Regions from separate parts of the Homo sapiens genome. Here regions 1, 2, 4 and 5 are each linked to region 3. The links are contacts of gene promoters, found by promoter capture Hi-C in human tissues and cell types (Jung and others, 2019). All regions are on one chromosome and are shown on one strand. The core of a region is centred on a gene start or on the middle of the fragment in contact, and the rest is flanking DNA. Distances in the headings are between cores, read along the strand shown. Region 1 holds the start of AMBRA1 (autophagy and beclin 1 regulator 1). Region 2 overlaps CKAP5 (cytoskeleton associated protein 5). Region 3 holds the start of F2 (coagulation factor II, thrombin). Region 4 overlaps CKAP5 (cytoskeleton associated protein 5). Region 5 overlaps ATG13 (autophagy related 13).

What was found. The method cuts DNA at HindIII sites, captures the fragments that hold promoters and counts their contacts. A contact is called where the count stands out against the background at its distance.
Region 1: the fragment with the promoter of AMBRA1 here is called in contact with the fragment with the promoter of F2 in region 3 in 1 of the 25 tissues and cell types used here (spleen).
Region 2: a fragment that was not itself captured here is called in contact with the fragment with the promoter of F2 in region 3 in 9 of the 25 tissues and cell types used here (H1 embryonic stem cells, IMR-90 fibroblasts, aorta and 6 more).
Region 4: a fragment that was not itself captured here is called in contact with the fragment with the promoter of F2 in region 3 in 3 of the 25 tissues and cell types used here (ovary, stomach and thymus).
Region 5: a contact is called between a fragment that was not itself captured here and the fragment with the promoter of F2 in region 3, in 2 of the 25 tissues and cell types used here (small bowel and thymus).

Annotation. Positions count from the first base shown.
Region 1 is chr11:46,592,698-46,597,204 of GRCh38, forward strand. It overlaps AMBRA1 (autophagy and beclin 1 regulator 1), which reads right to left and starts at 1,326. Exons shown (of 18, transcript NM_001387011.1): 1 at 1,131-1,326. RefSeq lists enhancers at 1,078-1,578, 1,081-1,510. The HindIII fragment of the contact is 25,136 bases long and covers 1-4,507 here.
Region 2 is chr11:46,782,431-46,786,680 of GRCh38, forward strand. CKAP5 (cytoskeleton associated protein 5) reads right to left here. Exons shown (of 44, transcript NM_001008938.4): 17 at 2,058-2,243; 18 at 844-938. Among named protein-coding and RNA genes, the nearest start is that of SNORD67, 22 kb to the left of the region's middle. The HindIII fragment of the contact is 4,962 bases long and covers 20-4,250 here.
Region 3 is chr11:46,716,331-46,720,709 of GRCh38, forward strand. It overlaps F2 (coagulation factor II, thrombin), which reads left to right and starts at 2,883. Exons shown (of 14, transcript NM_000506.5): 1 at 2,883-2,984; 2 at 3,372-3,532; 3 at 4,193-4,217. The coding sequence starts at 2,906. The HindIII fragment of the contact is 9,646 bases long and covers 1-4,379 here.
Region 4 is chr11:46,812,696-46,816,814 of GRCh38, forward strand. CKAP5 (cytoskeleton associated protein 5) reads right to left here. Exons shown (of 44, transcript NM_001008938.4): 4 at 3,503-3,709. Among named protein-coding and RNA genes, the nearest start is that of CKAP5, 32 kb to the right of the region's middle. The HindIII fragment of the contact is 3,118 bases long and covers 1-3,114 here.
Region 5 is chr11:46,635,198-46,639,398 of GRCh38, forward strand. The region is part of intron 2 of ATG13 (autophagy related 13); the gene reads left to right. Among named protein-coding and RNA genes, the nearest start is that of ATG13, 20 kb to the left of the region's middle. The HindIII fragment of the contact is 9,077 bases long and covers 1-4,201 here.

The DNA of each region.
Region 1 (4,507 bases), core at 76-2,575, 130 kb before region 3:
CAGTGAGCCAAGATCGCGCCACTGCACTCCAGTTTGGGCGACAGAGCTAGCCTGTCTTAAAAAAAAAAAAGAAAAAAGAGAGACAGACTCCTTGGGTTTCCATTGGATACTCCCCAGAAAGCAGACCCTCACAGGACAAGCGTTTGCCTTCAAAGTCTTGACCATCCTCTACTAGACTCTAACCTCTAACCACAAACACCATAGTTATAAGATTTCCAAAGAGGCTGGGGAGAAGGAGGATAAATCAACCAGGAAACAATGTAGACAACAAGGTTATCAGGAAACAAAGTAGACAACAAGGTTATCAGGAAACAAAGTAGACAACAAGGTTATCAAGAAACAAAAAGAAACTGTCATTGCTACACTAGTTAAAATGATACAGACTTTGAAAAGCAAAACAGCCAAGAAACCACATGGTTCCTTTACTTCTGAAGCCTCTTGTGACAGGATCTATATTCCTAACAGTCTATATTCCTAGGAAAATTGGGATCACAGACGATCAAACAATAACTCACTGTTTTCATAACTTGACTGGTAAGTGGGGGGAAGGGAATTGGTAAACGACAAAAAGTGACTTACAGTGAATTTAATGATCTGTTGGGGATATGTGGGGAAGTCACGTCCCAGACATCAGCCTCAGTTTACCCACCCAGAAAAAGGCGAGAACATAACACTTCGCTCAGAAGAGCCAGAGGGCCTTGTTCCATAAGCCTCCACCTACTCAAAGGTCCCTTCAAAGGCTGGACTCAGTAGGGGTCCCCAGTGCAATTGAGGCATGACACCCGGAGACTTCGGGGTGGGGGGAAAAGGAGAAAGGAAGGAGGGTCAAAGTGCGCAAAGCTCTATCGGTTCCTGGAAAGCCATTTTCGCCACACACTGGGGGTGCCCTAGACCCAACATCTCCTCCCTAAAGAACCACACCGGGAAGCCCCAGCAACTCTCCCTCCTTTCGGCTTCTCCCTCGGTTCCGGGCTGCCCCTCCGGCCGCGCCCCTCAACGCAGTCCGGTAGCCCCTCCTCTGGCAGTGTCACGGCGGCCGGCCAGCCTGCCCACCCGCCGGCGCCAAGGTCTTCTCAACCCCGCGGCGGAAGGATGCCGGGCTGGGCCTCCCAGGCTCCTCCTGGGCCTACCTGCAAGGCAGACGGGAGCTCGGTTTGCAGTCCAGCGAACGGGCTGAGCCACAGGGAAAAAGAAAGAGGAGACAGGAATAAAGGAAGGGGTCCGTTCTACCGACCGGCAGGAGAAGGCGGCTTGAGCGCGGGGCCTCGCGGACAACTCAGCCCTCGACCCGGCGCCGCCGCCGCTCAGGAGACATCAAGCAAGAAGACGGCGCAAAAGATCACCGAATACAAGAACGCCCCAGACATCAAAGGAGGAACGCCCAAGCAATCGTTCAAGGAACCACAGCCGAGCGCCGAAAAACAGCTCAACTCCTACTCAAGGTCCGGCTCCTGTCTGAGGCGTAAATAAACAAACCCAGATCATAAGCCACGGGTTAAAAAAGAGCCTGCACTTCTGCCATTTTCTGTGGGTCGCCGGCTGTTAAAGTTCTTTAGAGAACTGGAGTTTCTCGTGAATGTGTTGAAGATCAAATCATAGCGCAATAACACTTGTTGTGTAACTATAGTCCCCCAACTGTTCTATGGACTCCCAACACTCTTTATCCCAATTGAGCAAATTAGTTAACCTCATTTGACCCTTAGTTTCCTAACAGAGCAGTGAGGGGAATTAAAAATCATAGAGACAGAAAACGAGAGAGAATTCAAGCTGAGGAACAAAATGAACAGTCTACGTAAAAGCTCCAGTTTAGTCCCCACAAAGCATGACCAAGAGAAGCTGGGAAAACCCAGAATTATGTAGCCTGACCTTAAGGCAGGGGGAAAAAAAGCACACGGATTGCTTTTCTCTTTTATTTTCTTCCAAAGGCCTAGAGCCACAGGTGTGCTTCTTACATAATAAGCAAAAGTCTCTTTGGGTTCAGAACCTGATAAAGTGTTGACATTTTCATCACCACAACAATGGCTTTTTTCTGTAGTCTCTTAGTTGATAAATGAATATGCTCAGCACAAATATGGATTAATATGTACATCCTAGATGTGATTCAATAAATCACAAAGATCACTGCAAGTATGGTTACCAATTGTGAGCAATCATAGTCTACCTTACCTGCTCCTAGGGAGGTTTACACCCTTCCCCACTACTCAGAGAGGAAGGGTGTAAAAAGGAAACAAGATAGTCCCAGTTTGTCGGGCGCAGCGGCTCACGTCCATAATTCCAGCACTTTAGGAGACGAGGCTGGTGGATTGCTTTGAGCCCTGGAGTTCAAGACCAGCCTGGGCAACATGGTGAGACTCCAGTCTCTATAAAAAAAAAATAAATAAATACAAAAAGTTAGCCGGGCCTGGTGGCTCCCGCCTGTAGGCCCAGCTACTCGGGAAGCTAAGATGAAAGGATATCCTGAGCCCGGGAGGTGGAGGCTGCGATGAGCCATGATCACACCATTGCACTCCAGCCTGATCTATGGAGCAAGACCCTATCTTAAATTTTTTTTTTTTTAAATGCCGGGCGCAGTGGCTCACGCCTGTAAGCCCAGGACTTTGGGAGGCCGAGGCAGGTGGATCACGAGGTCAGGAGTTTGAGACCAGCCTGGTCAAGATGGTGAAACCCCGTCTCTACTAAAAATACAAAAATTAGCCGGTCGTGGTGGCGGGTGCCTGTTATCCCAGCTTTTCGGGAGGCTGAGGCAGGAGAATCGCTTGAACCCAGGAGGCGGAGGTTGCAGTGAGCAGAGATCGTGCCACTGCACTCCAGCCTGGGCGACACAGCAAGACTCCGTCTAAAAAAAAAAAAAAAAAAAAAAAAAAAAAAAAAAAAAAAAAAAAAAAAGTCCCAGCCTTTGAAGACTTTAATTAAACTCAAAGAGCACATCCTTACAGTATTAGCCTTTTTTAAATAATGTATTGGCACTTTACAAAAATCTCCTCTAAGTCTTTGAAAATACTGCCCAGGCCGGGCGCGGTGGCTCACGCCTGTAATCCCAGCACTTTGGGAGGCCGAGGCGGGCGGTTCATGAGGTCAGGAGATTGAGACCATCCTGGCTAATGCGGTGAACCCCGTCTCTACTAAAAATACAAAAAATTAGCCAAGCGTGGTGGCAGGAGCCTGTAGTCCCAGCTACTCGGGACTACAAAAAAAAAAAAAAAGAAAGAAAGAAAACTCTCCTTCTTGGAGAGGCTTGTGGAGCATAGCTATAGCCCTCATTCAAATTTTACTCAGATAACTACATTGTTTTTGTTTCTTTGTTTTTTGAGACGGACTCTCGCTCTGTCGCCCAGGCTGGAGTGCAGTGGAGCGATCTTGGCTCACTGCAACCTCTGGCTCCTGTGTTCACGCCATTCTCCCGCCTCAGCCTCCCGAGTAGCTGGGACTACATGCGCCCGCCACCACGCCCGGCTTTTTTTTTTTTTGAGGATTCTCGCTCTGTCACCCAGGCTGGAGTGCAGTGGCATGATCTCGACTCACTGCAAGCTCCGCCTCCCGGGTTCACGCCATTCTCCCGCCTCAGCCTCCCGAGTAGCTGGGACTACAGGCGTCCGCCACCACGCCCAGTTAATTTTTTGTATTTTTAGTAGGGATGGGGTTTCACCGTGGTCTCGATCTTCTGACCTTGTGATCCGCCCGCCTCGGCCTCCCAAAGTGCTGGGATTACAGGGGTGAGCCACTGCGCCCGGCCACGCCCGGCTAATTTTTTTGTATTTTTAGTAGAGACGGGGTTTCACCGTGTTAGCCAGGATGGTCTCGATCTCCTGACCTCGTGATCCACCCACCTCGGCTTCCCGAAGTCCTGGGATTACAGGCTTGAGCCACTGCGCCCGGCCAACTACATTGTTTTGAAACCTTGATTGCAGTAAAAAAAACTAATTTCACTGCTCTAGACATTTTCCTTTTTTCAAAAGCTGGAGACTTTTGAGTAAAACACCTGAAAGTTCGGCAAAGATTTATCTAAAATCATCATCTGAAAATGAAAATATTTGCAACGCTGAGTCTAGACTGCTTTGTGAGACCATGGAAAGGGTGGCTTATTCTATGGGCAGAGTTGCACCTTTACAGATAAATTTCCTTTAGAGAACTGTTCTTTTCAAATATGTATGTATATATATGGATTTAAGCTTCAGTTTGACAGCAAACTACTGCATGTTCTTATGGAAATGTTTATTTAGACTGAAGAGTGGATCACAAGAGATCAGGAGTTGAAACCATCAACCTTGCGGGAATCTCCTCACACTAGAGGAAAAACTGTAAAAAAGAAACAAGGCCAGCAGAAGTGAAGATCATCCTGGGCTGTACCCCTGATGTTCCTCATATTGATGTTAAGACTCAAGAACTCATTATGGTGTTTACTGTTGATCACTGAATTCTGGTAGGACTCTCCTCATGGAGCCACTCCCCTGAGGTAGGATGGTGCTTCCCTGAAGTAGGATAACCAGTCTTAGTTTTGCCCAGGACT
Region 2 (4,250 bases), core at 1,251-3,750, 66 kb after region 3:
ACTATGGGCGAACACCACAGATAATAACATAACAAACCGTTCTTTGTTATTTGAGTAACTTCTAGAGTAGTGTTTTTTCAATCAGTAGAACTCAAAATACCCTTTTACAAGATATTAACAGGCATGTTGCAAAATGTAGCATGGCACAGAGAAAGGTAACATAGTATAGCAGCTACATCATTCTTTCTCCAAACCAGAATGCCTGGATTAAAATCTTGGTTTTGCCACTTTCCTAACTATGATGGGCCCAAATTACTTAAACTTTCTGTGCCTTAGTCCTCATCTATAAGATAGGGATAATATAATACCTCGCTTAGTTGTTATGATGATTAAATCAAATGAATTATGATTTAGAAAGTGCTTTTTAAAAGTACCTGGGATAAAGTAAACTGTATAAAGTTTTGTTTTAAATAAACAACCGTGCTCTATAAGCAAATAAGTTTGGGAACAGTGGGTTAAACAAAGTTAAACAAGCTCTTCTATTGCAGGATTTCTGACAGCAGTTAATTCGCCAAGGCATACTATAGGTCTTTAAACAAATGTAATTATATACAGAAATTTCCTAATGTATTTGACTAGAAATTCTTGGAACTGGATTTTCTGTGGGACAGCTATTAATGCTTAAGGAAAAATAACGTAGAGAACTCTTTCAGTGAACATCAAAAAGCAGGAACACAAGCCAATATAGACCTTTGAGAACAAAGGTAATTTTCTTTTATATAAATGAGACAATCCAGCTCTCACTCTTCAGAAATAAACAGCAATAGCTATTATTATAAACAGCACGACTTAGAGACTGACAGAACATTTAACTATTTTCCACTTGATTTCGTTCTGACTTACCCAGAAAAACCAAATTCTTTTATGGCATTTGATAGCCAATTCAGAGTTTCTGACTGATTTTTGGGATTCTTTTGTGAGAAAGCCATTGACACAACCTGAAAAGGGAAAAACAGCAGATCTGTGTTTTATCTCGTATTTCTTATAGAAATACAGCATGACATTAAGGCAGATGTGCATTAAACTAGTTTTCTGACGCTAAAACAACTGCAAGAATGCCTTAGGAACAAGAGTGAACCTACACAAGAAAATGAGGTGAAATGATAGTAGGACTAAAGGCATTCTGGACTATTTATAGCTTTGCAGCAATTACTCTGCATTATAATGTTTTTTTTTTTTTTTTAGAGACAGGGTCTTGCTCTGTCACCCAGGAGTACAGTGGCACAATCATCAATCATTGCAGCCTCAAGCTCGTGGGCTTTCACCTTCTATAGAATTTTTTGTTTATTTGTTTTGAGACAGTCTCACTCTGTTGCCCAGGCTGGAGTACAGTGGCGTGATCTCGGCTCACTGCCACGTCTGTCTCCCAGGTTCAAGTGATTCTCCTGCCTCAGCCTCCCTAGTAGCTGGCATTACAGGTGTGCACCACCACGCCTGGCTAATTTTTGTATTTTTGGTAGAGACGGGATTTCACCATGTTGGCCAGGCTGCTCTCAAACTCCTGGCCTCAAGTCATCCTCCTGCCTCGGCCTCCCAAAGTGCTGGGATTGCAGGTGTGAGCCTCTGTGTCTGACCGAATATTTTTGACTAAGATGAATTTTCATCACTAGGCAATAGAGTATTTTTTAAGGTAAAAATAAAAATGCAGTATCAAAGGGCCGGGCATGGTGGCTCACACCTGTAATCCCAGCACTTTGGGAGGCCGAGGCAGGCAGATCACCTGAGGTCAGGAGTTCGAGACAAGCCTGGCCAACGTGGCGAAATCCTGTCTCTATTAAAATTCAAAAATTAGGCAGGCGTGGTGGCAGGTGCCTGTAATCCCAGCTATGCGGGAGGCTGAAGCAGGAGAATCACTTGAACCCGGGAGGGTTGCAGTGAGCCGAGATTGCACCATTGCATTCCAGCCTGGGCGACAGAGTGAAACTCCATCTCAAAAAAAATGCAGTATCAAAAAAGATTTTACTTGAGAAGATAAAAACTAATGTTTAATTAGTAAGCTTAAAGTTTGGGGGAAAAAATTGGGAAAACTAGAGGAATAAGACTTCTGTGTCACTAACCTGTTCAGCAGTCCATGGTAACATACAGGCTTCGGCTATTGCTGTCATAGCTTCTTTTGCATTGTTCCCACATTTCACATCTCCAATCTTGTCCACAAGGCCATCTAATACAACCTGAGCTGACGTTTTGGAAAAATTTCCCTTCTGGGCAATCAAAGCAACTATATGAAGCTTCATTTGCATCACCTGAACAAGGATCAGTATCATAAAGCTAAGAGCAAGCCAAGGACATTTATTTATTTACTTGTATTAACAGCATGTAACAGATATGACATGGTTAGGGACAGCTGGAAACACAACTAAAGTAAAATCAGGATTTTAAACAAATATGCAAAATAATTTGTATCCTTTAATTGTTACCAATTACTTAACTGACAGTGAAGAGAGGGAAAAAAAGCTACTCAGTGTTCCAAAATACTAACAAGTAATATTGCACAGAAAGTTTATTAATTGAAAAATCTGATTTTTAAATTTTCCTCCTCTTATGATTATTTGCATTTAGTACTGAATACACACCCTAAAATACACAATAAATTACTATACTGACTGCATAACTGAGAATTACTACTAGGGCTGCCTACAAAAACACTACAACCCTCTTATACACACATGCAACACAGAACTTCAGAGATTTTAGAGAACTTGTTGGCTTTTAAGTATAAGAATAAAAAGATCTGTGGAAAATAATTTAAAGATATTATTGTGATGGCAGACCTATGGGATTAAGGACCCCTTTGCTCATAAATATTTTTCTTTGTACTGTGTGAATATTTTAACTTTTTTTGTTACGCCACTAGAAATCCTATTATACAGATTAATTTAGGTGACAAATACTCCCATTTATTTATGTATTTATTTGACAGAATCTTGTTCTGTCACCCAGGCTGGAGTGCAGTGGTGAGATATCAGCTTACTGCAACCTCTGCCTCCTGGGTTCAAGCGATTCTCATGCCTCAGCCTCGCAAGTAGCTGGGATTACTTACAGGCGCCCGCCACCACGCTTGGCTCATTTTTGTATTTTTAGTAGAGATGAGGTTTCACCATGTTGGCCGGGCTGGTCTCGATCTCCTGACCTCAAGTGGATCTCAAGTGGGATCTCACCTCAGCCTCTCCAAGTGCTGGGATTACAGGCGTGAGCCACTGTGCCCAGCCACACAAACATCCTCTTTTAAAATGCAATTATCGCCTGGCTCATGCCTGTAATCCCAGCACTTTGGTAGGTTGAGTCGAGGGGAATGCTTGAGCCCAGGAGTTCAAGACCAGCCTGGTCAATATGGAGGGACCCCAGCTCTACAACAAGTACAAAAATTAGTTGGGTATGGTGGCCCTCGCCTGTAGTCCCAGCTACTTGGGAGGCTGAGGTGGGAGGATCACTTGAACCCAGGAGGCTGAAGCTGCAGAGAGACATGTTGACACCACTGCACTATCTAGCCTGGGCAAGAGAGTGAGACTTTGTCTCAAACCCCCAAAATTTGACATAGCAGGCATGTGAAAAAATAAAAATTTAAAAAATTAAAAAAAAAATTCCCAAACCAAAAAACAAACCAAAGAAATGTAATTATCTTGGGTGGGACTTCTGCAATTGTGGAGTCAATACCTCTGAAAAACTGATCTTCCTCAAAAGCAACAAAGAACACTGGCAAAAACTATCCAAATCAACTTATCTCACAACTCTGAAAATTAAATAAGGCTTGTAACATACAAGAACCATTTAAAGAAAGGATGCTGAATTTTAGTAAGGACAGTGAGGTTTCTGGTGATTTAACTTGCCTTGCTCCCCTTTTCTTCCAGCTCCACAGTAGCCTTCAAAACCTGAAGTCTTGTAACCATGGCAACTATGAAAACCTAGAGCTGTGCAGCCACTGGCAGGTGGGGGGACAGCTCAGGTTTGGACCTCCTCAAAAAGTTTTGACCCAAAGTACTGTCTTGTCTGGCAGCTTCCTAGAAAAGCTCCATTTGAAAGTCCTGTTATTTGACTGGACTCTGGCTAGCTCAGTGGGAAAAGCCCTATCCCCAGGGATTTTGTTGAAAACAACGAAAACAATGAGTGGCAACTGTTTAACATCTAACATCAGAACTGTGTAAGTCCATAATACCAGCTGGGGGAACCCAGCTTGGTCAAAAACATAAAAGGACCTAGGGAATAAGATATCCACAGAGGACTTTGAGAATCTAGAAGGTCATGCGAATATT
Region 3 (4,379 bases), core at 1,633-4,132:
TCCATGAACTTTTCGAAGACCCCTTGTAGATGTCTGTTGTTTAAACCACCCAGTTTACAGTAATTTTTTTTTTTTTTTGAGATGAAGTCTTGCTCTGTCGCCCAGGCTGGAGTGCATTGGCACACTCTCGGCTCACTGCAACCTCTGCCTCCTGGGTTCAAGCAATTTTTCTGTCTCAGTCTCCCGAGTAGCTGGGATTACAGGTGTGTGCCACCATGCCTAGCTAATTTATGTGTTTTTAGTAGAGACGGGGTTTCACTATGTTGGCCAGGCTGGTCTCGAACTCCTCACCTTGTGATCGGCCCGCCTCGGCCTCCCAAAGTATTGGGATTACAGGCGTGAGCCACTGCACCTGGCCTACAGTAATTTTATAGCAGCCCAGGCTAAGATAGCCATTTCTGGGTATAAGAATGTCATATACTGAACAGGCCTGCAACTGTGAGTAAAAGTCTGCAAAGAGGCCGGGCAGTGGCTCATACCTGTAATCCCAGCACTTTGGGGGGCCGAGGCAGGTGGATCACCTGAGGTCAGCAGTTCGAGACCAGCCTGACCAACATGGTGAAACCCCATCTCTACTAAAAATACAAAATTAGCTGGGCGTGGTAGTGCATGCTTGTAATCCCTAGCATGCACTTGGGAGCTACTTGGGAGGCTGAGGCAGGAGAATCACTTGTACTCAGGAGGCCGAGGTTGCAGTGAGCTGAGATCACGCCACTGCACTCCTTTCTGGGTGACAGAGTGAGACTCCATCTCAAAAAAACAAAACAAAACAAAACAAAAACAAACAAAAAAACCCAACAGGTAGGTAGCAGTGGTTCACGCCTGTAATCCCCACTTTGGGAGGCTAAAGTGGGCAGATCACCTGAGGTCAGGAGTTCACGTCCAGCCTGGGCAACATGGTGAAACTCTGTCTCTACAAAAATACAAAAATTAGCCAGGCATGATGGCGGGTGCCTGTAGTTCCAGCTATTCGGGAGGCTGAGGCAGGAGAATCGCTTGAACCTAGGAGGTAGAGGTTGCAGTGAGCCGAGTTCACGCTATTGCACTCCAGCCTCCATCTCAAAAACAAAACAACAAAAACCCAAAATATATATTATAATTTTATTTTATTTATTCAATTTTATTTTATTTTATTTTATTTTTCTAGGAACAGGTCTCATTCAGGCCAGGCATGGTGGCTCACGCCTGTAATCCCAGCACTTGGGAGGCCGAGGTGGAGGTGGGCGGATCACCTGAGGTCAGGAGTTCGAGACCATCCTGGTCAATGTGGCGAAACCCCATCTCTACTAAAAATACAAAAATTAGCCAGGTGTGGTGGCACACGCCTGTAATTCCAGCTACTTGGGATACTGAGTCAGGAGAATCACTTGAACAGGGAGATGGAAATTGCAGTGAGCCGAGATTGTTCCACTGCACTCCAGCCTGGGTGACAGGGCGAGACTCCGTCTCAAAAAAAAAAAAAAAAAAGAAAGAAAGAAAGAAAGAAAGAAACAGGATCTTACTCTGTTACCCAGGCTGGAGTACAGTGGTGCAATCATAGCTCACTGCAGCCTGGAACTCCTGGGCTCAAGTGATCCTCCTGCCTCAGCCTCCTCAGTAGCTCAGACTGCAGGCATGCACCACCATTCCCAGCTAATTTTTAATTTTTTTTTGGTAGAGATGAGGGTCTTGCTATGTTGCCCAGGCTGGTCTCAAACTCCTGGCCTCAAGCGATCCTGCCATGTCGGCCTCCCAAAGTGTTGGGATTACAAGTGTGAGCCACTATGCCTGGCCTAAAAATATATATATGAAAATATATAAGAAATGGGCCTCCCAGGAATTAAGGTGTTTGCGGGAGTCCTGGTCCCCAGTTTTTCTGCCAACACTCCCTGTTCCCACACATGACCTGGTCCAGACCCCAAACAGCCAGGCCCAAAGGACAGGTGAGGCGAGGCGAGAACTTGTGCCTCCCCGTGTTCCTGCTCTTTGTCCCTCTGTCCTACTTAGACTAATATTTGCCTTGGGTACTGCAAACAGGAAATGGGGGAGGGACAGGAGTAGGGCGGAGGGTAGGGTAGGACCAGAAGCCTCTCTAGGCCTGCCATGGGGCAGGCAGCCAGGGAGAAGGAGGGCCCCTCAGTGGAGACCCAGGGATTTCAGTAGCCCCTGTTCCGGGACAGGCGCAGGTCCTGGGAGGTGACAGAAGATAGACTAAAGGCCCAAGAGTCCCTGGACCTGACTCCTCCCAGGCAGCTGCCACACACAAACACACCTCCAGGCACCCTGGACAGGAAGGAGGAGAAATGGGCCCCTCCTCCAGTGGCTGAGAAGCTGGGGCAAATGTTGGCTGTTCCTATCCCTGGTGCATCCCATGGCGAGGGGCAACTTCCATCAGGCCACACCTTTTATCTTTGTCTCTATTTTTGATATCTGTGTATTATGATTATACAAACCCCCACATTGGCCTATATGTGCAGATCTGATTAAGAACTTACGATATTCCATGGACATTCCATTCCTAATCTCCTTTAGTCCTCACAACAAAGTATTATTCCCATTGTATAGATGAGGAAACTGAGGCACACAGAGATGACAAGCAACCACCGCTATATGTTAGGATTCGAAGGAGCTCCAGGAAAGTCTCATAGCCCCACTGGCCAGAATGGGCTAAATCTCAGAGGGGGAGGGTGGGAGATGGGGGTGACAGTGACCTTTTTTGTGACTCCTCCTAGACCATCCATCCCTGCTCCCAGGAGGACCTGTCCTCCCAGATGGTGGAGATGGACAGGAGGACTATCTACCCACCCGTCCCCACGGCCCTGACCCTCTGACCTCACCCTCTCCGCTGATTTCTTCATGTTAGTTCAACATTAACCCAGAGGGGTCAGGACAGACAATTCCTCAGTGACCCAGGAGCTGACACACTATGGCGCACGTCCGAGGCTTGCAGCTGCCTGGCTGCCTGGCCCTGGCTGCCCTGTGTAGCCTTGTGCACAGCCAGCATGGTAAGGGAGTGCTTGCAGGCTGGAACAGGCTGGAGGACTGGGGTGTGGGCCCATGGGCTGGGGTCTCCTGGCTGGACAGAGCACACAGAGCTGGCCCCTAAGTAGGTCTCAGCCCCAGGCGGCCAGCTTAGGGAAGAAGTCAGGAGCTCAGGGCTGGAAAGAGAATGGCTGCTTCTCTCTTCCAATATAGGGAGCAGGCTGGGGGCAAGGGGCAGTGTAGGAGGGGCACAGGGGGCCACATTTAGCAGCCTTCCAGGCACTTCCACCAGCCCAGACAGCCTCTCTCAGAAGCCAGCAGGGGAGGGTGGGCTTGCTTCATGCCCCCAGAATGGCCAAGACTGCCTGTTCCTGAGGCCGCTGTCCCATGACCCCCCCACCGCCTTACAGTGTTCCTGGCTCCTCAGCAAGCACGGTCGCTGCTCCAGCGGGTCCGGCGAGCCAACACCTTCTTGGAGGAGGTGCGCAAGGGCAACCTGGAGCGAGAGTGCGTGGAGGAGACGTGCAGCTACGAGGAGGCCTTCGAGGCTCTGGAGTCCTCCACGGCTACGGTGAGCCTGGGCTGCTCGGACGGTGCCGGGGCCTCAGACCGGGCCCAACTCTAGACACTTCCACAGAGAAGCAAGCGAGGAACGCCACAGCCCCTTCGCTGCTCACAGCCTCATTTCAACTCTGAGCCCCTCCTCACAGGGCTGGCAAGAGGAGCGGCCTCAGCCTTTCCTGGGGGTCTCTGTGCCTGGACTGTGTCCCTGTGCAGCTCCATGACATGGGGAGGCCTCCACAGTCTTCAGACATCCACCTGCCCTGGAGCTCTGTGTCCACATGGCCTCCTCAGCGGCAGACTCCCACACCACCCTTGAGGGGTGGGACTCTGGGGAGGCCACCACAAGCCCCCGGGCTCAAGACTCAGTGTTCCTGGAGCTCTGTGTCGCCTTTCCTGTCTGTAGGGCTCTGCCAGGGTCCCACTGCCCCCTCTCCTCCCATCTCCCCCAGCCTCTTTCAGTCTCGGTGTGTGTGTTGGAGGAACTCCCCTATCCTCAAATATTCTTCTCCTTTTGGAAACAAAAGTAGGAAACTCTGCCACAAACCTCCCCAGAGCCTGCCCCCTGCGTGACCAGGGTAAAGGAAAGTGTGAGGAGGAGACATAACATTTACTAAAACAACACAAAACAGGAGCTGCCGTAGCCTCACTCCCAGCCCTTGTTTTTCAGGATGTGTTCTGGGCCAAGTACACAGGTGAGCACCGGGAAGGATTTGCCCCAGGAAGGGAGGCCTGGGGACCCCAGTGAGAGAATTCTACCCAGAGAATCTTCTGCTGCACCTAGCCATCCACCCATCCACCCCTTCCCCACTCCTTCCTTGGTCCCTCCCATCTGTTCATCCATCTTTCTGTTTCTC
Region 4 (4,119 bases), core at 306-2,805, 95 kb after region 3:
GGTATGATCACAGCTCACTGCAGCCTCGACCTTCCCTGCTCAAGCTATTCTCCAGACTCAGTCCCCCAAGCAGCTGAGACTACAGAGGGGCACCACCATGCCCGGCTAATTTTTTTTTTGTATTTTTTGTAGAGACGGGGTTTCTCCTTGTTGCCCAGGCTGGTCTTGAACTCCTGGGCTCAGGCAATCTGCCTGCCTCAGCCTCCCAACCCAAAGTGCTGGGACAATACAGGCATGAGCCACTGCTCCTGGCCTTAATTATTATTATTATTTTTGAGATAGTGTCTCACTCTGTTAACCAGGCTGGAGTACAGTGACACAATCATAGCTCACAGCAGCCTCACCCCCTGGGCTCAAGTAATCTTCCTGCCTCCTGAGTTGGTGGGACTACAGGCACAATAAAAAAAGAATTTTTAATAAGATACCTGGCTATGTGATATAGTTTAAGTACAAATATCATGAGAATAACCTACATAATCTCTAAGATTTTTTAAAATGCTTTTATATTATTAAAAAAATTACATTTTAACTTGGCTCAGCTGACCTTTAAGATTAAACAAAAAATAAGAAATTATAGTGGCAATAAACCATTTTGTTTTAGGGATATTTAACATGGTGCCTGAAGAACCTAACATTTGAGATTTCTTAAATCTTCCTATATATTATTACTGTTTCATCTGAATCTTTTTTCTCTATCCTGGCCTCCTTCTGTAAGAAAAAAAAGATGGAGCAAGTCCACATGGAAAATAGACACCTTAATAAAATAAAACCTAATTTTGATACTAAACGTATTACTATAGAAAACACAAAAGGGTACTAGAAACCTGTTTTAGGTACCACAAATGTTTCTGGTCACCTGAAGCTCTCACTAACAAAGCTTTAGCAAGCTCTGGAACCCAGGATCAAGCAGTTTGGCCTCAAGGTTCTTGAGGGTCCCAGAGAGCTACCTAGTTAAACTATAGACTCTGAAATGCTTTAGGACAAATAAAGAACCACACAGGGATGGGACTACATAACAACATCTATGAAGAAAACATGAGATATACGTAACTTGTTATTTTCCTACCCTTATTCTCCCAGTTTAGCTAAAAAATGAAATAACCAGAGTACACAGCACTCCAGACTAGAAACTTGTAATTTAAAGGTAGAAGATTATAGGCCAGGTGCGGTTGCTTATGTCTGTAATCCCAGCACTTTGGGAGGCCGAGGTGGGATCACTTGATGCCAGGAGTTCCAGACCAGCCTGACCAACATGGAGAAACCCATCTCTATTAAAGAAAAAAAAAATTAGCTGGGTGTGGTGGTGCTCACCTGTAGTCCCAGCTACTCAGGAGGCTGGAGGCATGAGAATCGCTTGAACCCAGGGGCGGAGGTTGCAGTGAGCTGAGATCGTACCACTGCACTCCAGTCTGGGTGACAGAGCGAGACCTTGTCTCAAAAAAAAAAAAAAAAAAAAAAAAAGATTACAGTATTTTTTAAAATTTAGACATCACTAAGGACACAAAAGATTTATTGATATAAGCATAGTTCTGATAACTAAGATGAGTCACTAAATTTCTAAGATAATAGAATGAGCATACTGTTTACTACTCAGAAAAACATCTGCTTACTATATTGTAATAGGCTAGAAACAAGGAAACTTCATTCACGTAAGAATCTAAGCAAGTCAAATTTTATAAAAGTACATTATGAGCAAAGCAAAAAACAATATTAAAGACCTATAAATCAAAGATCATTCAACAAAATACAAGAGTTTTTATACTTTCACAGAAGATAAACACCAAAGGAAACATTTTTCTCCAAGATGTAGGTCATACACAAAATCATGAGAGGTGAGATGGATGATCTTCATTCCGTGAGGATTTTACTACAGCTGCTTTCTAAAATATCTGATATAGACAGTACTTGGGGACAGGATACCAGATTAGAAGAACTGCCAAGTCTGAACAAACTAGTGATCTGTCTAATTCAGATTTCCATAGCAAATTACATCCACTTGTTCCTGAAAGAGATCCTATTCATGAAAAATTTCATGGCCAAACAAGAAAGTCTAGGGTTGAAAAGAACTTACTACATAAGAGCAAAAGTTACTTTTCTATTTGCTTTCACTGTGCGTCTCTTTAAAGGCATATAGCATTTGCTTCTACTTTACTAAAAAGGCACCTAAATAAAGGTTAGCTTTAGTCCACAAACTTTATCTTTAGCCAACATCTCAAAGTATAGACTTCGAAAGTCTATACTTAAGATAGCAAGAGAAAAAGAGCTGCTTAAATACCCTGAGGAGTAGTTTTCCAACAAAAGGCCAGTACTTTTCTTTTCAGTGCTTTTCCACCAAAAGGCCAATTTTTAAAATGTATTTATTTATTTATTTTTGAGAGGGAGTCTTGCTTTGTCACCCAGGCTGTAGTGCAGTGGCATGATCTTGGGTCACTGCAACCTCTGCCTTCCAGGTTCAAGCAATTCTCCTGCCTCAGCCTTCCGAGTAGCTGGAATTACAGGCATGCGCCACCATGCCCAGCTAATTTTTTCGTATTTTTGGTAGAGACGTTTCACCACATTGGCCAGGCTGGTCTCAAACTCCTGACCTTGTGATCTGCCTGCCTTGGCCTCCCAAAGTGCTAGCATTACAGGAGTGAGCCACTGAGCCTGGCCATATTTATTTATTTTTTAAAGAGACAGGGTCTTGCTCTCTCACCCAGGCTGAATTGCAGTGGCACAATCACAGCTCAGTGCAGCCTAGAACTTCTAGACTCAAGAGATCCTCCCCACCTCAGCTTCTTTATAGTGGCAGGGGTCTTGCCATCTTGCCCAGGCTGGTCTTAAACTCCTGGCCCCAAGTGATCCTCCTAACTCAGCCTTCCAAAGTGCTGGGATTACAGGCATGAGCCACTGCCCCCAACTGAAAAGCCTAATTCTTAATCTGATAACAGGTCAGAAATCTCTATTCATCTTCATTAGAAAGGGATTCAGATAAAATAACTACACAACACACTTGAAGGCTAAAATTAGTCAACATGAAGTGCCACACTTGGGGAATGACTTTCCTTATTCAGGTCACTTTCTTGCTTGTTTTGGCATGCCAAGTCAAATTCTGCAGTTTCCATTTCTGTTTAAACCCGGAATCCAAACTCAATTGAGATACTCTAGTTCAGGGATCCCTAACCCCTGGGCTGTGGCCAGTACAGTGGCCTGTTAGGAACCAGGCACACAACAGGAGGTGAACAGCTACCAAGCGAGAATTACCCCCTGAGCTCTGCCTCCTGCCAGATCAGCAGGGCATTAAGGTTCTCATACGAGTGCAAACCCTACTGTGAACTGCACATGTGAGGGATCTAGAGTGCATGCTCCTTATGAGGTGGAACTGTTTCATCTCAAAACGACCCCCCCATCCCCCCAACACACAATTCTTCCATGGAAAAATTGTCTTCCATGAAACTGGTCCCTGGTGCCAAAAAGGTTGGGGACTGCTGCTCTAGTTAACAAAGCTAAAACAAAGTCTTACCTTAAGGCTTTCCTCAGTGTCTCTATACAGGCCACTATGATCTTGGGATTCTTATTGTCCAAGCCTTTCAGGAGCTCTTCTTGAACAGCCTCTCCTTTCTCAATCTCTATGTACATAAGACAGATCTCTATGCCCAGCTCCTTGGCTTTAGCTTTAGGTTGATTGAACACCTTACTTACAACACCTGACACAACTTCTCCTGTGGTTCTGTAACATATTATAAAGAACAAAAATCCCACTTAAGTAGTAAGAATTGGAAAAAGGTCACGGAAAGGGGGTGTACTAGTACTTTTACAAATGCTAGAAATACAGTAAATGAGTCTTTAATTTTTAAATTTATGTTCAAGAATATTTTAAAAACTTAACGTTAAACATAAAATTTTAAGACATGTCATAGCAGGCATAGTAACAGTTTATAAATGTAGAAAATTCAAACAAAAAATTAAAGATCCCTTGAAATCCCACCACCCAGAGAAAACTACTTTCAACTTTTTGATATCCCTCCTTCCAGACCTTTCTCTAAGTGTGTGTGTATATGGACATACAAATATACTTTACAAAAGTAGGGTTACAGAATGCTTGCTTTCAATTTTTTTTTTTTTTTTTTTTTTTTAAAG
Region 5 (4,201 bases), core at 716-3,215, 82 kb before region 3:
GTTTTGCTATGTTGGCCAGGCTGGTCTCGAACTCCTGACCTCATGTGATCCCCTGCCCTCAGCTTCCCAAAGTGCTGGGATTACAGGCGTGAGCCACCGAGCTTGGCCTTTTAAAAGTTTTATTTTAATTAAGACATAATAATTGTTGTACATATTTATAGGATACAGTGATGTTTTGATAAATATATACATTGTGTAATGATCAAATCAGGGTAATTAGGATTGCCTGAGTCCAGGAGTTCAATACCAACCTGGCCAACATAGAGAGACCCCCATCTCTTTTTTAAAAAATTGCATAGCAAGAGTTGCAGGATTTAGTAACTGGATAGTTAATAGCAAAGGGCAGAAAAAAGGAAGTTGTTCAATTGCAGGTTTCTTTAATGTTTGTATCAAATTTACCTTTGTATTCATAGGAGCACTCAAAGAAAGAATTTTGCAAAGAGCAAAGCGTAAAGTAAACCTTACATACATTTATCTTGTAGAGGATGAATTGACTGCTTGGTTAACTGGACCTAAGGGAACACATAGGCCTGGGAGATAACTTTTTCCCTAGTGGAGACTGCACCCTTTTTGGCTCAATAACTGTAGTTACATAATCCTTTCAATGCTACCAGTTGTACAAAAAGTCATTGGAGCCATTGTGCCGTTATAATGATTGCATTGGTAGATAATCTGATGGTGATAATCCAATTCTTACCTTTAGTGTAAGATAAGGGCAGTATAATCCTGCAGCGCATTTCTTTCTTTCTTTGTTTTTCTTCTTCGTGAGACAGGGCCTTGCTCTGTCACCCAAGCTGGAGTACAATGGCACAGTTGTTAGTGTTCTTTTTAACCAAAATTAGGAATGTCTGAAGTGGGTATATGTTTCAAATGCAGCCAGATCTACAAATGATAGATTCCAGTAGGTAAGTCATTTATAGTTTGGATCGCTTTAGGCCATTAACCTGTTCTTGATCACGGTGGACTATCCTGTGGCATCGTATTCCAATAATTATTTCCTCTCTCACATCTTTTATTTCTCCTTCATTGACTTCTTGTCTCTCCCTATAAATTTGTTTAGATATCCCTATCCTGGGAGGGCCAGGCGCAGTAGCTCACACCTGTAATCCCAGCACTTTGGGAGGCAGAGGCGGGTGGATCATGAGGTCAGGAGATCGAGACCATCCTGGCTAACACAGTGAAACCCCGTCTCTACTAAAAATACAAAAAAATTACCTGGGCATGGTGGCAAGCACCTGTAGTCCCAGCTACTCAGGAGACTGAGGCAGGAGAATGGCGTGAACCCAGGAAGCGGAGCTTGCAGTGAGCCGAGATCATGCCACTGCACTCCAGCCTGGAGGACAGGGCGAGACTCCGTCTCAAAAAAAAAAAAAAAAAAAAAAAAGCCAGGCAAAGAGTATATACTGTATGATTTAATCTTTTTTCCTTTTTTTGTTGGGGGTAGAGATGGAGTTTCACTATGTTGCTCAGATTGTTCTTGAACTTTGGGCCACAAGCGATCCTCCTGCCTCAACCTCCCAAAGAGCTGGGATTACAGGTGTCAGCTGCCACGCTGGGCCTATGTGATTTAGTTGATACAGTTTTTTTTTTTCTTTTGAGGTGGAGTCTCATTCTGTCACCAGGCTAGAGTGTTAATTCTCCTGCCTCAGCCTCCCGAGTAGCGGGGACTACAGGCGCACACCAACACGCCTCAGCTAATTTTTGTATTTTTAGTAGAGACGGGGTTTCACCATGTTGGCTAGGATGGTCTCGATCTCTTGACCTTGTAATTAGCCTGCCTTGGCCTCCCAAAGTGCTGGGATTACAGGTGTGAGCCACTGCGCCCAGCCATTGAGAAAGAATTCTACAAACTGCAGATTAAGGATCAGAGGTTTCCTAAGGATAAGGGGTATTAAGGAGTGGCTAAAGGGAGGCATGAGGAAACTTTTGGGAACTATAGGGGTTCACTATTTTGTTTTTGGTGATGGTTTTACCATACATAAGTGTGTTGAATCCTATTAAATTGTATACTTTCAACATACTGTTTATTGAGAGCTACAACTCAGCTATTTTTATTGATCTATTTTGAGATGGAGTCTCACTCTGTTTCCCAGGATGGGATGCAGTGGTGCAATAAAACAAAATGTTTCTACAAGAAAATACAGGAGAATATCTTCATGATTTGCAGATCAGCAAAAATGTATTTTCTTTTCTCTGAATTTTAATAATTTATTAATCTTTCGTTTGATGGTAAGCACTTTTTTATGTTCAAAAAATAATGTTTTTCCAGGGTTCAAGTGATTCTCTTGCCCAAGCCTCCCGAGCAGCTGGGATTACAGGTGTACACCACCACTCCTGGCTAATTTTTGTATTTTTTTGGTAGAGACAGGGTTTTGCCATGTTGGCCAGGATGGTCGCAAATTCCTGACCTCAAGTGATCTGCCTGCCTCAGCTTCCCAAAGTGCATCAAAACTATTTTTCATATGGAAATAGCACCCAGATGAGAACAAGCGCAGGCTATTCAGAGCAAAAGAGTCAGCTGTTATCATTTGCATTTGGCAGAGACTCAGAAGCGGACAGAGGAGTGGGAAAGCTTTATAGTGGGGGAAAAAGGGAAGGTTTCAAGTTTTCCCTAATTGGAGGCTCCTGGCATAGGGCAGCTGGCGGCAGGCTGACTAGAAGCAGGGCATCCTGTGTGATTGGTTAGGAGGTGCATATTTGGCTTTCTTCAGTTGGTCCTAAGTTGGAGGACGTGGGGACCAAAATGTAGGGTATTAAGTCCTAGCTCTTTTGGGCCAATGGTTTTTTGTTTTCATTTTTAATTTATGATTGATACATAATAATTATACATATTTATGGGGTTCGTGTTTTGATGCATGTCTAAATTGTGTAGTGACCTATTCAGGATAATTAGCATATTCATCATCTTAAACATTTATTGTTTCTTTGTGATGAGAACATTTAAAAACCTCTTTTTTGACTGGGCACGGTGGCTCATGTCTGTAATCCCAGAACTTTGGAAGGCTGAGGCAGGTGAATTGCTTGAGTCCAGGAGTTCAAAACCAGCCTGGCCAACATGGCATAACCCTGTCTCTACTAAAAATACAAAAATCAGCTGGGCGAGGTGGCGCATGCCTATAATCCCAGCTACTCAGGGAGGCTGAGGCACCAGAATCGCTTGAACCCGGGAGTCGGAAGTTGCAGTAAGCCAAGATCGCACCATTGCACTCCAGCCTGGGTGACAGAGTGAGACTCTGTCTCAAAAAACAAAACAAAAAAACCTCTCTTGCTATTTTGAAATATATATTATTGTTAACTCCAGTCATTCTGCTATGATATAGAACACTGGAACTTATTCCTCCTATCTAACTGTGGCCTTGTACCTGCTGACCAATTTCTCACCATCAACCTACACCCTACTTCCCCATCCTCTGGTAACTCCTATTCTACTCTCTACTACTTTAATAACAACATCTTAGATTCCACGAGTGAGATCATGCAGTATTTGTCTTTCCATGCCTGGCTTATTTCACCTAACATAATGCTCTCCAGGTTCATTCATGTTGCTGCAAATGACAGGATTTTACTCTTTTTCTGTGGCTAATTTCCATGATATATATATTCCTCTTTTTTTGTTTGTTTGTTTTTTGAGACAGAGTCTCACTCTGTCACCCAGGCTGGAGTGCAATGTTGTGGTATTGGCTCACTGCAACCTCCGCCTCCCAGGTGCAAGCCATTCTCCCACCTCAGCCTTCCAAGTAGCTGGGACTACAGGCATGTGCCACCACACTCGGCTGATTTTTATTTATTTATTTATTTATTTTTTTTTGAGAAGGAGTCTCGCTCTGTTGCCCTGGCTGGAGTGTAGTGGTGCAATCTCGGCTCACTGCAACCTCTGCCTCCCGGGTTCAAGTGATTCTCCTGCCTCGGCCTCCCAAGTAGCTGGGACTGCAGGCGCCACAACCATGTCTGGCTACTTTTTTGTATTTTTAGTAGAGACAGGGTTTTACTATGTTGGCTGGGCTGGTCTCGAACTCCTGACCTCATGATCCGCCTACCTTGGCCTCCCACAGTGCTGGGATTATAGGCGTGAGCCACCATGCCCAGCTTCCACATTTTCTTTATCTTCGTTGATAGACATTTAGGGTGATTCTGTATCTTGGCTATTGTGAATTGGGCCAATTGTCATAGTGGTTATTGTTGGCTTCCTGGACTAGTTGCT